Linked DNA regions of Homo sapiens: all the other regions are linked to region 3. The links are contacts of gene promoters, found by promoter capture Hi-C in blood cells and fetal thymus (Javierre and others, 2016). All regions are on one chromosome and are shown on one strand. Each heading gives the region's core, a stretch centred on a gene start or on the middle of the fragment in contact. The rest is flanking DNA. Distances are from core to core; before and after follow the strand shown. Region 1 overlaps SLC44A1 (solute carrier family 44 member 1). Region 2 has its middle 25 kb from the start of FSD1L. Region 3 holds the start of SLC44A1 (solute carrier family 44 member 1). Region 4 holds the start of FSD1L (fibronectin type III and SPRY domain containing 1 like).

What was found. The method cuts DNA at HindIII sites, captures the fragments that hold promoters and counts their contacts. A CHiCAGO score of 5 or more calls a contact.
Region 1: a contact is called between a fragment that was not itself captured here and the fragment with the promoter of SLC44A1 in region 3, in 1 of 17 cell types (M0 macrophages). The highest score is 5.0, in M0 macrophages.
Region 2: a fragment that was not itself captured here is called in contact with the fragment with the promoter of SLC44A1 in region 3 in 1 of 17 cell types (M2 macrophages); the score reaches 5.1 in M2 macrophages.
Region 4: the fragment with the promoter of FSD1L here is called in contact with the fragment with the promoter of SLC44A1 in region 3 in 8 of 17 cell types (activated CD4 T cells, naive CD8 T cells, total CD4 T cells and 5 more); the score reaches 7.9 in activated CD4 T cells.

The regions. Positions count from the first base shown.
Region 1 is chr9:105,382,483-105,385,693 of GRCh38, forward strand. SLC44A1 (solute carrier family 44 member 1) reads left to right here. Exons shown (of 16, transcript NM_080546.5): 14 at 641-877; 15 at 2,940-3,020. Among named protein-coding and RNA genes, the nearest start is that of FSD1L, 64 kb to the right of the region's middle. The HindIII fragment of the contact is 2,916 bases long and covers 197-3,112 here.
Region 2 is chr9:105,421,123-105,424,434 of GRCh38, forward strand. It overlaps a transcript of SLC44A1 not described here. Among named protein-coding and RNA genes, the nearest start is that of FSD1L, 25 kb to the right of the region's middle. The HindIII fragment of the contact is 4,715 bases long and covers 1-3,312 here.
Region 3 is chr9:105,242,823-105,246,125 of GRCh38, forward strand. SLC44A1 (solute carrier family 44 member 1) reads left to right here and starts at 1,829. Exons shown (of 16, transcript NM_080546.5): 1 at 1,829-2,082. The coding sequence starts at 2,047. It overlaps LOC112268038 (a long non-coding RNA gene), which reads right to left and starts at 2,771. Exons shown (of 3, transcript XR_002956866.2): 1 at 2,197-2,771. RefSeq lists enhancers at 1,471-2,375, 2,376-3,279 and silencers at 1,602-2,201, 2,212-2,351, 2,692-2,771. The HindIII fragment of the contact is 7,272 bases long and covers 1-3,303 here.
Region 4 is chr9:105,446,583-105,449,820 of GRCh38, forward strand. It overlaps FSD1L (fibronectin type III and SPRY domain containing 1 like), which reads left to right and starts at 1,452. Exons shown (of 14, transcript NM_001145313.3): 1 at 1,452-1,653. The coding sequence starts at 1,639. RefSeq lists a silencer at 1,333-1,942. The HindIII fragment of the contact is 4,464 bases long and covers 378-3,238 here.

The sequences.
Region 1 (3,211 bases), core at 405-2,904, 140 kb after region 3:
TGAAATAAAATACGAAACACAGAAAAAGTTCTAAGACTATACATGTTTGTTGCAGCATTATTTATATCTGAAAACAATATAAATCTCTAACAGTAAGAGAATGGTTACATGTATTTTAAATCACTCATAAAATGAAATTATGTAGCTGAGTAAATATGAAGCATTTATAATGATACTTCTATGTATATTAATGAAAAGCTTATAGTGATTTGTTTATATAATACTATTTCATATATGTGAAAATGCTTAGAAAAAATACATACCATTACACTGAAATATCACTTTTTTTCTGAGTGCTAAGAGTTTGTAAATTTTTTCTAAAATATGCATACATTTATCTTAAAAATTGCCACAGATTCTAAATAGATTAAGTTTTAGGGTGCAGCATAGCATTTGGAAAACTTAATTATGTTTAAACCAGAATCATTTAAAGTATGATTTTAAAATTTATATTATATGATAAGCATGTATAACTCTGGGTGTATATGAGAATATGTGGATTATATTTCCTCATTTGAGATGGAATGGCCTCATGCAACCATCATTTATAAATAGTAGAATTTTAAGTCTGCAAATGGTGAAAAAAGAGTGGCTTTCTTCAGTAGGATATTAAATATGATCTTTGTTCTCTCTGCTTCAGGTGCTGATAGTCTGCAGCACAGGTTTAGCTGGGATTATGCTGCTCAACTACCAGCAGGACTACACAGTATGGGTGCTGCCTCTGATCATCGTCTGCCTCTTTGCTTTCCTAGTCGCTCATTGCTTCCTGTCTATTTATGAAATGGTAGTGGATGTATTATTCTTGTGTTTTGCCATTGATACAAAATACAATGATGGGAGCCCTGGCAGAGAATTCTATATGGATAAAGTGCTGATGGTAAGTACTTCAAATGCCGTTTCCTATTTTAGGGATAAAAATACCAATAAAAATATTTTGTAAAACATTCTCTATATTTAATTCACACTATATGCAACTGAGTAATTTAGAATTAACCCCATAGCACTGACTCATAAATGAGGTTAATCTAGGGTAAGTCAGGGAGGACGGCTTCTTGGCATGGACAAGATCATTTCAGATCCACCTAGCTAGAGCAGTACTGGTTAATAGTCCTAAGTTCACCCTATTCTTGCTGCCCCTCTCTCTGTAGTTAGATAGATTTGAATTGACTTTTTAAACTAGCTTCTAGCCTTTTCCTGAAATGGGGCTCAAAGACAAAATATCCTGTTTCCCAGGTCCTAGTGCCTACCTGTCTTTCTCTATCCACCACTGCCCCAAACATTACTGCTGTCAACCCTGGTTAAAACTCATTATCTTAAATATGGTAGGCCAAATTGAAAGCATTTTGTGATGAATACCGATAACAGACCCATGACTGGTAGAGTGTATAGTTATTTATTAGTCAAGATCTGAACCTTTACACAGATATATGCAGATTTTTCATATTAGAACCTCAATTAAATTTCTTTAAAATTTTGAAAACCTTATTAAATGGTTTAAGTACTGTTATAATCAGTGTTAAATGTTACCAAAGTAAAGATGCTTTCTAAATAATAGTAGTTTGCTATTAAGCTGTGAAATATTTCTATCTCAAAATGGGTAATATTGAATACTAAGCATTATACATTGAAATAACAAGTCATTTTCCAGGAGCATATTTTATCCAGTTAAATCTAAAATAAGTGTATTAATAAATAAGCTAGATTTTTTTTTTTTTCTTTTTGAGACGGAGTCTTGCTTTGTCACCCAGACTGCAGTGCAGTGGCATGGTCTTGGCTCTGCAACCTCTACCTCCCAGGTTCAAGCAGTTCTCCCTCAGCCTCCCAAATAGCTGGGATTACATGCATGTGCCACCACTCCTGGCTAATTTTTGTATTTTTAGTAGAGATGGGGTTTTACCATGTTGGCCAGGCCGGTCTTGAACTCCTGTCCTCAGGTGATCTGCCTGCCTCGGCCTTCCAAAATGCTGGGATTACAGGTGTGAGCCTCCATGCCCAGCCTAGATTTTTTTTTTCTTTTCAATAGCAAGAATTCCAAATGATTTAGCTGACCTATTTGGCACTGATTTTCTCTTTTTCTGGCAACATCAGCTAAATTCTGGACATTTTCTTAATGTCTAAACTAATTCTAACTGGTTATTTTCTTAATGGAATTTGATCATGATTATTGTATCTCTTTTGTGACTAAAGCATTTAGAAGAGTGTTACTGTTTTTTAAGTCACTGATCAAAAGCAGAGTAAAAAATAACTGTTTTCCACCCTTCAGTTTTCTCTGTAGGAATGGTGAGGATATTTAATGAAGAAGTTCCCCGTAAACGTTGACAGAATAGAAATGTTCCCTTTGGGCACATTCCCATTTCGACTACTACTAACCATAGGTTCTGGTTGATACACCCTGTCTTCCTGCTTCATGAAGTAATGTCATGGTCAGATTGACACTTTTTTTAAAAAGAGTAGTTTGTTTATGGTTTGGTTAAGAAAAAAAGCATTATGTGCTTAGCAGTATCAATGTGTTCTTTTACCTTCTATGGTTATTTAAAAGTGGAGGCTTATGGAGTAACGTGTTCTTGTTGTTTCATTTAACCTTGATATAGAAAAAAACAACAACAACAAATAAAATGATATTCTGAGTATGAGAAAATAGCCTCTTAAAAATGTTAGGTATTTTCTCTTCCAGGTAGAACTAACATTATCTCTTGGAGCCTTAGTAAGATTGTCACAATGAATGGATGGAAAGAAGATTTTTTTAATCAGCGAATTGCAGAGTCCATTTCTACAAATTTAGCAACTCTCATGTGTGATACTAAACATTATTTATTGCTATGTTTTTAAGCCATCCATTTACCAAGATTGAGTCAAAAATGTAGATGTTCTTTAGAATTCATCTACTAACAAATCTGAAAGGACCCAAGAATTTATTCAATATGGTCCATATTTTGCAGGAGTTTGTGGAAAACAGTAGGAAAGCAATGAAAGAAGCTGGTAAGGGAGGCGTCGCTGATTCCAGAGAGCTAAAGCCGATGGTAGGTGGAGATGAGGAGGTGGCCGCCCTCCAAGAATTTCACTTTCACTTCCTCTCTCTCTCTGTCTTCACTGACTGCACTTCTTCAGGAGAAGCTTTTGTTATCTGTATCACGCAGGACATGCTGCTCTTTCTGTTTGTGTGCTTACCCATCACTTGGATGGCAGAATTCTTGTCACAACTGAGACCACC
Region 2 (3,312 bases), core at 541-3,040, 180 kb after region 3:
TATTTTCCTTATAAAACAATACCTGGAAGTGGTTCCTCTGGTTTTCAAATATATGATGTGATAAATGGAATGCATTAATATTTTATGAATTAGATGTGCTGGAATGGCATACATTGCTCCTGGAACAGCTATCATTTACTGAACACTTTTTCTCCTTTTGCCTAGTAAGCAAAAGCCACTGTGCTAAGGGCTTTCTAGGCATTATCTTTAAATCCTTGTAAGAATCATGAGACAGAGAGTGGTTCCCATTTTAAAGTTGAGATCACAATGACTCAGAAACTTAAGTTATATTACTAGAGGTCAGAGAGCCTCTGGCAAGTTATTCAACTAAGCATTAGAGCCACCGTCATTAAAAGAGTTCTGGATTACAGGAGTTTATATAGTAACCCACATTCAGAGAATAGAGCAGCGACACTCATAATCCAATCTTGCATTAGGTTCACAAGACTTCAGAAATCTCTTTTTTTTTTTTTTTTTTTTGAGACAGAGTTTCCATCTGTCGCCCAGGTAGGCAGAGTGCAGTGGCGCGATCTCGGCTCACTGCAAGCTCCGCTTCCTGGGTTCACGCCATTCTCCTGCCTCAGCCTCCCGAGTAGCTGGGACTACAGGTGCCTACCACGGCGCCCGGCTAATTTTTTGTATTTTTAGTAGAGGCGGGGTTTCACCGTGTTAGCCAGGATAGTCTCAATCTCCTGACCTCTTGATCCACCCGCCTCGGCCTCCCAAAGTGCTGGGATTACAGGCGTGAGCCACCGCGCCCAGCCAGGAATCTGCTTTGAATTCCTTCAGCACACTGGTGCATTGTCAGTATTTTTCAGTCTTGCACAGGCCTAACTTTTCCAGTAAGTTCGGACCTCTGGTAGAAGTGACTACAGTACTGAGCATACTCAAGTGTTTCACTGAGTGCCAGTTGAGAGAGGTGACAGCGTTAGGTTGGACTCTCCTACCTGAGTGATGACAATAAGGAAGTCCACCAACTTCCTTTTTATCCTCAAGGTCAGAGTTACATCTAGCAACTTAGGTACTCAAGCCAAGTAGTTAGAAATTTCCCCTTAAATCAGCAGGGTGGAAGCTGGTCCCTCTGTACTGCACAGAAAGGGGCCCTCATGATCTCATGATGCAGGACTCCTGCCCTGACCTTGGGCCTCCTGCTCCATCCTTTTTTTTTTTTTTTTTTTTTTTTTTGAGACAGAGTCTTACTCTGTAGCCAGGCTGGAGTGAAGTGGCACCATCTCGGCTCACTGCAACCTCTGCATCCCGGGTTCAAGCAATTCTCCTGCCTCAGCCTCCTGAGTAGCTGGAACTACAGGCGCGTGCCACCACACCTAGCTAATTTTTGTATTTTTAGTAGAGACGGGGTTTCACCATGTTGGCCAGGATGGTCTTGATCTCTTAAACTGGTGATCTGTCCCTTCAGCCTCCCAAAGTGCTGGGATTACAGGTGTGAGCCACTGTGCCCAGCCCCATCCTTTATCAGCGGCCATGAGACAGATCCCTGGATAGGACAGACCTACCTCATATGCTGGAGAATTGCTGTGGCCATTTGGCTAATTAGAGGGCCAAATTTGCATTGTAAAATGGTACCCACTAAATTATAATTCCCTGGGGGCAAAGCCTATTTTCAGTGTCCTACTTCTGGTTTGCGTGAAGTTGAACATTTTTTCTTACAAACTCTCAGTGGCACCACCAATTTAAATAAAGAGGGAATTTTAGCTTATCTTGTCTGGTGTCCAGAATCAAACAAGTTTGTGGGTAGAATATCCAAGTCACTCATGTTAAAAACTCTAGAGTTCTCCATTACACTTCCTTCTCCCCGATCATCTCCTAACCCCTAGCAAGGAGCAAAGTTAGATTTATGTCAGGCCCTGTGTGGGACATAGTAGGTACTTATTGAATGAACAAAGGAAAACTGGGACGGAAGGAAAGAGGGAGGGAGACAGAATTTGAGTGTTTGAAATCTACTCTTATGTTAACAGTGTGAGGAAACAGCTCTTTTGAAAGTCATTTGGAAACGTGTATTAAAAATCTCAAGAATGGGCCAGGCGTGGTGGCTCACGCCTGTAATCTCAACACTTTGGGAGGCCAGGGTGGGCGGATCACCTGAGGTCGGGTGGGCGGATCACCTGAGGTCAGGAGTTCGAGATCAGCCTGACCAACATGGTGAAACCCTGTCTCTACTAAAAATACAAAAATTAGGCGGGTATGGTGGCACATGTCTGTAATCCCAGCTGGTCCAGGAGGCTGAGGCAGGGAGAATCACTTAAACCCAGGAGATGAAGGTTGCAGTGAGCCGAGATTGCCCCATTGCACTCCAGCCTGGGCAACAGAGCGAGGCTCGGTCTCATAAAATAAAATAAAATAAAATCTCAAGAATGTGCACATTTTTATCCAGCAATTCTGTGTTTAGAAATTAAGGACATGTGAAAAGATTTTGCTGCAAATCAGACTATTGTTCCTTGTTATAAAATATTGCAGCCAACCTGAATACCCAACAATAGAGAATCAGGTGAATGAATTATAATACATCTAAACCGCTTCTTCCTCTAACCTTTCATATCTCAGTAAATAGTAACACTGTTAAACCAGTTGTTCAAGCTGGTAACCTAGAATCATTAAATTTCCCTTTCTTTCAACTTGTCATTTTGAGTCTTGCCATTTTCCAAAATATACAAGGAGTCATCTTATAGATGTATTAACTTATGAGAGCAATAGATGTCATCAAGCCTAAAAGCCAATCTATCAAGAAAATCTGAATGCTTTTAAGGGTTTACTCACCATGGATATAGAAGGAAACATTGTTCAAGTAACCAGGTAAGTGGGTGTTGATTCCAACATCATGGAAGATGAAATTAAATTAATTGAGAGCCATAGGGAAATATGGACAAGGAAAAATTAAAAATAATAATATAGGGCTGCATACATAAAACACATATGTACAGTATTGTACTTTATGGATGATTTAAGAGATTTTTCAGAGTTAATTTTGATTAGATGCAATCAGTACAATCTTTAGATCCTGAACACCAGGCTCCCTGCTCTTGCCCTCCTCTCTCTGGTCCTCTTCCATGGGGCAAGGAGTCCACCATGGGATTAAGGGGACAGGCCCACCCTAAGCCTAATACCACTCTCCAGAATCCTAGTACCCTAGAACTCCCTCCCAAGACAAGGCCTGTATGAGTTTCTTCTCCAGATACTTCTTCCTAAGGATGGATACTGGCTGTGATTGTAGCAGGAGATGTGGCTGGAGCTTGCCCTTGTGGGCTCAGGTGTCCACAGGTAAGCGTGAGCAGCCCCTCCTAGTGTGGGCTGGGG
Region 3 (3,303 bases), core at 579-3,078:
TCTGGCTTTGAGGGAAAATCTCAAGGGAATGTTTTTTATTCTTGGCTGCACTGAATAATTCAACAAACATTTGAGAGAGCTGAGGGAGATACAAAGGAGAAAATACTTTTCCTTGTTCTCAGGGAGTTTACAATCTAATTCTGGAGTTTACAACCAGAATTGGGACTAGAACCATTAGTTTTATGTCTTCACTTGTATTTATTGGTTTAATGGTTATGGGAAACACATGTAGGATTCGCCAGCTCCGTGGTATGGTGGACCCTCTGATTAACCTGAAAGGAAACTAGAAAGAATGCAGAAGAATTCAAGATCTCAATCAGTTGAGTACTTGCTGACCTAGCAGCACTTTCTTATGTTATTTAATCTTGACCACAAGCCTTTGCAGTCATCCCTGCTACCAGCATTTCACAGAAGCGGACAATGAGATTTGGAGAGATAACTCGTCCACAGTCACGAACTCAGGAAATGGCATAGGAAAACATCAATTAGGAATTCTTCTTCCCTGGCCCTTTCTGTAGCTGTCCCCTTACAGGCTACCATTCCAACTTTCCTTGGCTTAGATTCCCTTTCAGTGCATGTAAAGTCAATTTAATTCTGTGTTCTTTTCTTCCCTCTATACTTTAACTAATCTTTAAAACTTGATGTCTCATATTTGGTGAATCAGTCCTTTTGGAAGTCTCACTCCCTTGCAGCTTTGCAAATAAAGTTTTTCTTTTCTTTCCTGTGGCTGTCTTTTGAGACATTCTTTGACAAGATGAAATGACATATGAAGGCTATAACAGTGCCTGATAATGTGGGGTTTTTTTTAACATCATTATCTTTAGTTTTATTTCTTTCACTTTTTAACTGTTTTCACCTCATACTGTATTTCCTAACGACTCGTTTGGAATTGTAAATTTCTTGAAGGTAGTTACCACGTCTACTCTAACTTGTTGCTACTTCCTTGAGTCTTACTGATTTAGCAACAGGAACTTGGTAAGTCTCTTTTGCTCGCCTCTTTATTCCCAGTACTAGTCACTGGAACGTAGTGTGTCTTCAGTAAGTATTTTTAATATGAATAAATTAATGTCCCCTTATTGTTTTTTGTAGACTATCCTGTATAAGAAAGTTTAGCTTAGATCCAGTATGGCTTTGACTTGCGAGCCTGGATAACTTTTTGCCTTTTCCTCATTTCTGGCTATTTATTACCATTTCAACCTTGGGAACATTTCATTAGGTTCTTGGTCCCTTTCAAGCCTCAGTTTCCACATCAGCAAAATGGGGACAGTAGCAACAGATGCTTGTTTCTTCCCGTCTTCTTATCACCTATTCCTTCTCCAGGAAAGGTTTCTTGTGTACGCTTTCCTCTGGAGAAAAAAAACAGCCGACGGGGCGGTAAGAAGCCATCAGGATCCTGAGTTGTGCGTCCAGTAGGGAGAGGGAGAAGTCCCGCTTGCCTCCTAGATCCGGAAGCAATCCGGCCCCTTTTTGGCAGCGAGTTGGCCCGGTCTTTGGCTGCCTCAGACCGCGTTGCCCTCCAGCCTCGAGGCAGAGAGCTGCCTCGGTGCCACAGCTAAATAAGCCCGGCGCCGCGCAGCCTCTGACACGCGCGGAAGGGCCCGGCCTTGTTCTGGCTGCCGCCGCCCTGCCACCAGCACGGCGCTGCACTGGGGGCGGGGAGTCTGATGGGAGACGCGCGCGGCGCTGAGGAGGCGGCGGCCCGGGAGAGGGAGCGGGAGAGGGACTGGGCGCGGGAGGCGGGAGGCGGGGGGACAGAGGGAGGCGCCGCCGCCGCCGCCGCCCGCCCCTTTCCGCTGGGGAGCAGCTGCTGCAGCAGGAGCAGAGCAGGAGACGCGTAGCCGCCGTCGCCGCCGCCGGGGGATGTGGCCGGCGCCTGCCTCTAGCCGCGCCGCCTCTTGAGTACCAGCCGCCGCTGCAGCCGCCGCCGCCGCCTAGCCGTGCGGTGCCAGGCCGCGCCCTCCCCGGGCGCCCGCCGGCTCGCATGCCGAGGGGCTCCGGGGCGTAGCTGCGCGCCCGGCGCCGCCTCCGGGCTCCTTCGGCCCCGCCATGGGCTGCTGCAGCTCCGCCTCCTCCGCCGCGCAGGTGAGGGGCTCCCGCCTCCCGGCCGCCCGCCCGGATGCCTCCCGTGCGCCGCGTCGCGCGGCGGGCGCCCGCCGCCCGATACCTCTCGCTGTCCCCAGCCTCCCCTGAGCGCACCGTGCAGTCCAAAGACCCCCACTCCGCCTTTCCGTCCGCCGGGTCCCGCCGATGCCCGTGCGCTGGCTCCGCGGCTGCCGACTCAAAGGCGCCTCTGCGCGGCGCCTAGTGCGCCCTCAGCTCTTCCCGGCCCCTTCCCCAGTCGGCCCCCTCCTCCCAGTCACACCTGAGCTGCCCGTCCCGCCCGCCTGCAGGTAGAGGCTGCACTGGCGCCTCCTCTGCCCCAGGTGGCATCCCCTTCCCTGTTCTTCCGGGCCTGGCTCCTCTCTTCCACCTCCGTGGAGTCTCCCCGCCATCCGCCGCCCGTTTTCTGTGCTCCTCGCAGGTGTACCCCCAGCAAGAGCTCTTCACCTCTCCCACCGAATTCCAGTTTCTGCTTCATTAGATATTCTGTCCCTTTTCTCTTGCCCGCTGCCCCCTGGCTGGGTTCAGATGGTTTCAGCGGGTCCCGGAGCCCTTCCACGGCCCGCTCCGCAGACCTCGCTTGCTCGCTTGCACCCCATCCCCCCTTAGTGCCGTGACCCGGGCCCCGCGGCCTCCCCGCACTCGGAGGCCCCTGCGGGAGCGCCGACTCTGGGCTGGGAAGGAGATTGGGCACCTGGTGGGTGACGGGAGCGCTACGGAAACTCCCTCTTTGTTGCCAGTGTAACAGGAGGAAGAGGTTCCGAATTTAGTTTTTCTGTGGGCACTGGCTGAATGTTGTCGCTGAGGGCTGAGATGCAGAGATTTCTCTCAGCTTCTACCCTGCCCCCATCCAAATTTCGCCAACCTCCTTCTCTCGGATCCGAGCCCTTAACCTGGGTGGAAATGTTTAGACAACTGTACGAGGATCAAATGTAATAGAACTCGACTACTGGCCACTAATAACTGAGAGGACCTGTTTGTAAATTACCTAATTTAGTGGATTAGCGAGTGTATTTACAAATACTATAAAAAGCAATCAGGAATACTGCATCAAACTGTCTTGTGGTGGTGTATGAAAAATAGGCTCTGACAACGCCTGGGATGTAATCTCACAGTTTCATTAGCGTAGTTTCATTAACTGTGGTCTGTGATTTGTTTGTTTTAGGGGGCAGAAAAGGGCTCTTGTTTTTAGAAATAAAGGAT
Region 4 (3,238 bases), core at 202-2,701, 200 kb after region 3:
CTGGTCTCGAACTCCTGGACTCAAGTGATCCACTCATTGGGCCTCCCAAAGTGTTGGGATTACAGGTGTGAGCCACCATGCCTGGCCTAAGTTTTAATTTTAGCACCTATAACCGTCTAGCACGTTAACTTTTTTTTTTTTTTTGGTTGGTCTTCTATACTAGATTGTAAGCTCTGTGAGAGAAACAGGGCCTTGCCCACTACTGAATTTTGTTTGTAGAACTGGTACAGAATAGGTACTCAATATGTATTTCCCTTTTATTCATTCATCATAAATGACTGTCTAATTGAACTTTTGTGAGCCTCTCCAGAGTCATCCAAATGGAAGATGAGGCCTGTCTGCTTGAGGAAGAACTTTCTCAAGCCTACTAAATTCCAAGCTTTCTAAAATCTTCATTGATGCCTCAGGCCACACCGAGCAGGTTCTAACTCCCCACTAAGAATGACTATAATGGGCCTGGCACATGCCCTGTAACCCACACCTGTAATCCTAGCAATTTGGGAGGCTGAGGTGGGCGGACTGCCTGAGCTTAGGAGTTCGAGACCATCCTAAGCAACATGGCTAGAACCAGTCTCCGCTAAAAGTACAAAAAATTAGCCAGGTGTGGTGGGGGCGCCTGTAATCCCAGCTACTCATGAGGCTGAGGCACGAGAATTCCTGGAACCCGGGAGGCAGAGGTTGCAGTGAGCCAAGATGGCACCACTGCACTCCAGCCTCGGTGACAGACCGAGACTCCATCTCCAAAAAAAAAAAAAAAAAAAAAAAAAGAGAATGACTATAATTTATTCACTACTAATTATGTACCATACGTTATTTAATCCTCACAATCCTCTGCAAAGTCCGCATTATTTCTCTCATTTTACAGATGAAACAAGCTCAGGCAGACTGACTTGCTCAAAATCATACAGGTAGCGAGGTGCCGGGGAGGATGGGTGGGTCCCCGGGAAAAACTGTGCCAGGCCCCAAAGCTCATATTAATCCCACACCCACGTTTCCGCCACTCTCATCCCTATATCCCTCCTCCCACGTTTCCACCACATCCCCTAAAGGTCTTTTCCCACGTTTTCGCTACATCCCCACCCCAGCCCTTTTCCTCCCTTTGGACCGCTGGGTCCGCTCAAGCCTGGCTGCCCCTCGAAGGATAGTGTGGGGAGGGGCTTCAGATGCGTGCTGGGTGGAGGGTGGGCTAATCCGTCTCCAGCACCAGATACTCTTTCCTTCCCGGGCCCTCCGCACCGGCCGGCTGCTGGATGCCCAGTGGCCTATTTCAGGGCCGGAGAGACCGCTATCGCTGGAGGAAAAAGGATGGGGGAAGGGAGTGCAGCCTGCAGAGGCACTAGCGGTAGACAGACGGGCGGCGCTCCCCACCCTCCACGGCTACTTCCCGGGAGCAGTCAGCCGCTGCGCGCAGGCGCGGTGCGCTCCTCAGCCCCTCCCTTCTGCGGGCCGCCCTTTCACCCTGGCAACCGCGGCGTGACTACGGCGCGCGCGGTCTGGGCGCGGACGGGTGGGGCCGGGCGGTGCCGGTGCGGGCTGGGGCAGTGCAGTGAGTAGCGGTCTTGGGGTGTGCGATCTCGCTGAGCCTCCTCACACGGTTCGTCGTCTCGGGTTCGAGCCCAGTGGGCTTAGCCACTCGCCATGGACTCCCAGAAAGTAAGCGGGGGAGGGGAGCCCGGGGCTACCGAGACAAGCCGGGCCGGCACAGGGTGGGCGGGGCGCCTGGGCCCGTGGGCTGTGGGTGCGCGGGGTGGGCCTGGCCGGGCGTCCGGGCTGCTGCTGCGGAGGGCAAGGCCGCCCGGCCGCTCTCTGGGCGGGAGCTAAGAGGCGCCCACACGGATGCGGGGACCGCGCCCGGTGACTCGGGCTGGCCTCTGCTCTGCGCGCTGTCCGGGGCCCTGACTCTGGAGGAGAAACGGAGCCATCCCCCTTTTAAAATCAGCCACTCTGCAGCGCTTTAGGCCGGTTTTCATGCCTGCAGACTGCGAGCGTGCTGGTGGGGGTGTATCCCTCCTCAGCAGGTGAGGAAACCGAGGCACAGCCTTTTTGGTGTCTCCCTGCTGACGCCGAAAGCTGGGGCTTTCTCCTCGACCAAGTCTCGTCTCAGCACCACGCTCTTTAGGTCAGGGACCGAATCTCCTTTGTACCGCCCACCGCTCCCCTTCCCATGACTTTTCCTAAGTAGATCTTAGTGTTTAGTGTTCGTTGAATGGAGGGAAAAGACTTCAATTGTTAGGGCAGCCTTCCCACTCTCTGACCAGTTGGTGTTGCTGGGCACAGTTACTTAGGGGTCGTTGTGGAATGTTTTATACTTTCCGAACAGTTGAGGAAAGGTTATATAATCGTAAAGGTTCAATTCAGAAGTATTTGGAGAACAAAGCCAATGTCTTGAATACAGTTAGAAGTGAATTATTCAGTCATAATCTCCATATGAAAATAACCACCCTGTTCTCTTTGTTAGACTATAACGTAATTGAAATATAGTACAGGGTAGGAAAGAAAAAACAAGGAGTATTAATAATGTAGCAGGGAAAACAAAGACATATCTAAGAGACTATTCTTTTCTATTATTAGAAAGCACGGGAAAGACTTAGAACAACGTTTTCTACAATTTTGTCTACATTCACCTTCTTGAGGATCACTTCACTGAGGGCATGAGAGAATAATGATGTGTTGAGCATTGACTATTACAGTATTTAACAAATATGCATATGATTTCATTGTATGTGTTGGTCTTGAAACTCACCTTGGAATGCATGACTATTCTTAAGGCATTTTTTAAAAATTAGATTTTGTGTATTTTGAGTATGTATAGGTTTAAAATATTGTCTCTGCCTAAATTTGTAAAACATCTCTCAGCTTATTAGATAAAAGAAATGATATTTGAATGGACATTAGCAGAGGTCAAGTGAAGGAGCAAAGTCCGGAGACATGGGTTCCAGGATGCTATTTACTAGCTCTGTGATAAGGAGCAAGTCACTTAACTGTGATTAATCTGTTTCCTCATCTATGCAGTAGAAGTAAGAGTATTTTATAGTGTCATAGTAAAAATCTGATAAAATAGTTTGTTCTGAAAACACAGCATTTTAAAGTTTACAAAGTATGACCACTAAAATACTGTGTCCCATAAAATACAAAAAAATGTGTTTTAATATTGATCATCATACTTTATCAGGGATGCATTATTCCTTACTTTAATGAGTTGTGACTCCTGGAAGGTCATGCTACTAGCCCTAAGGCT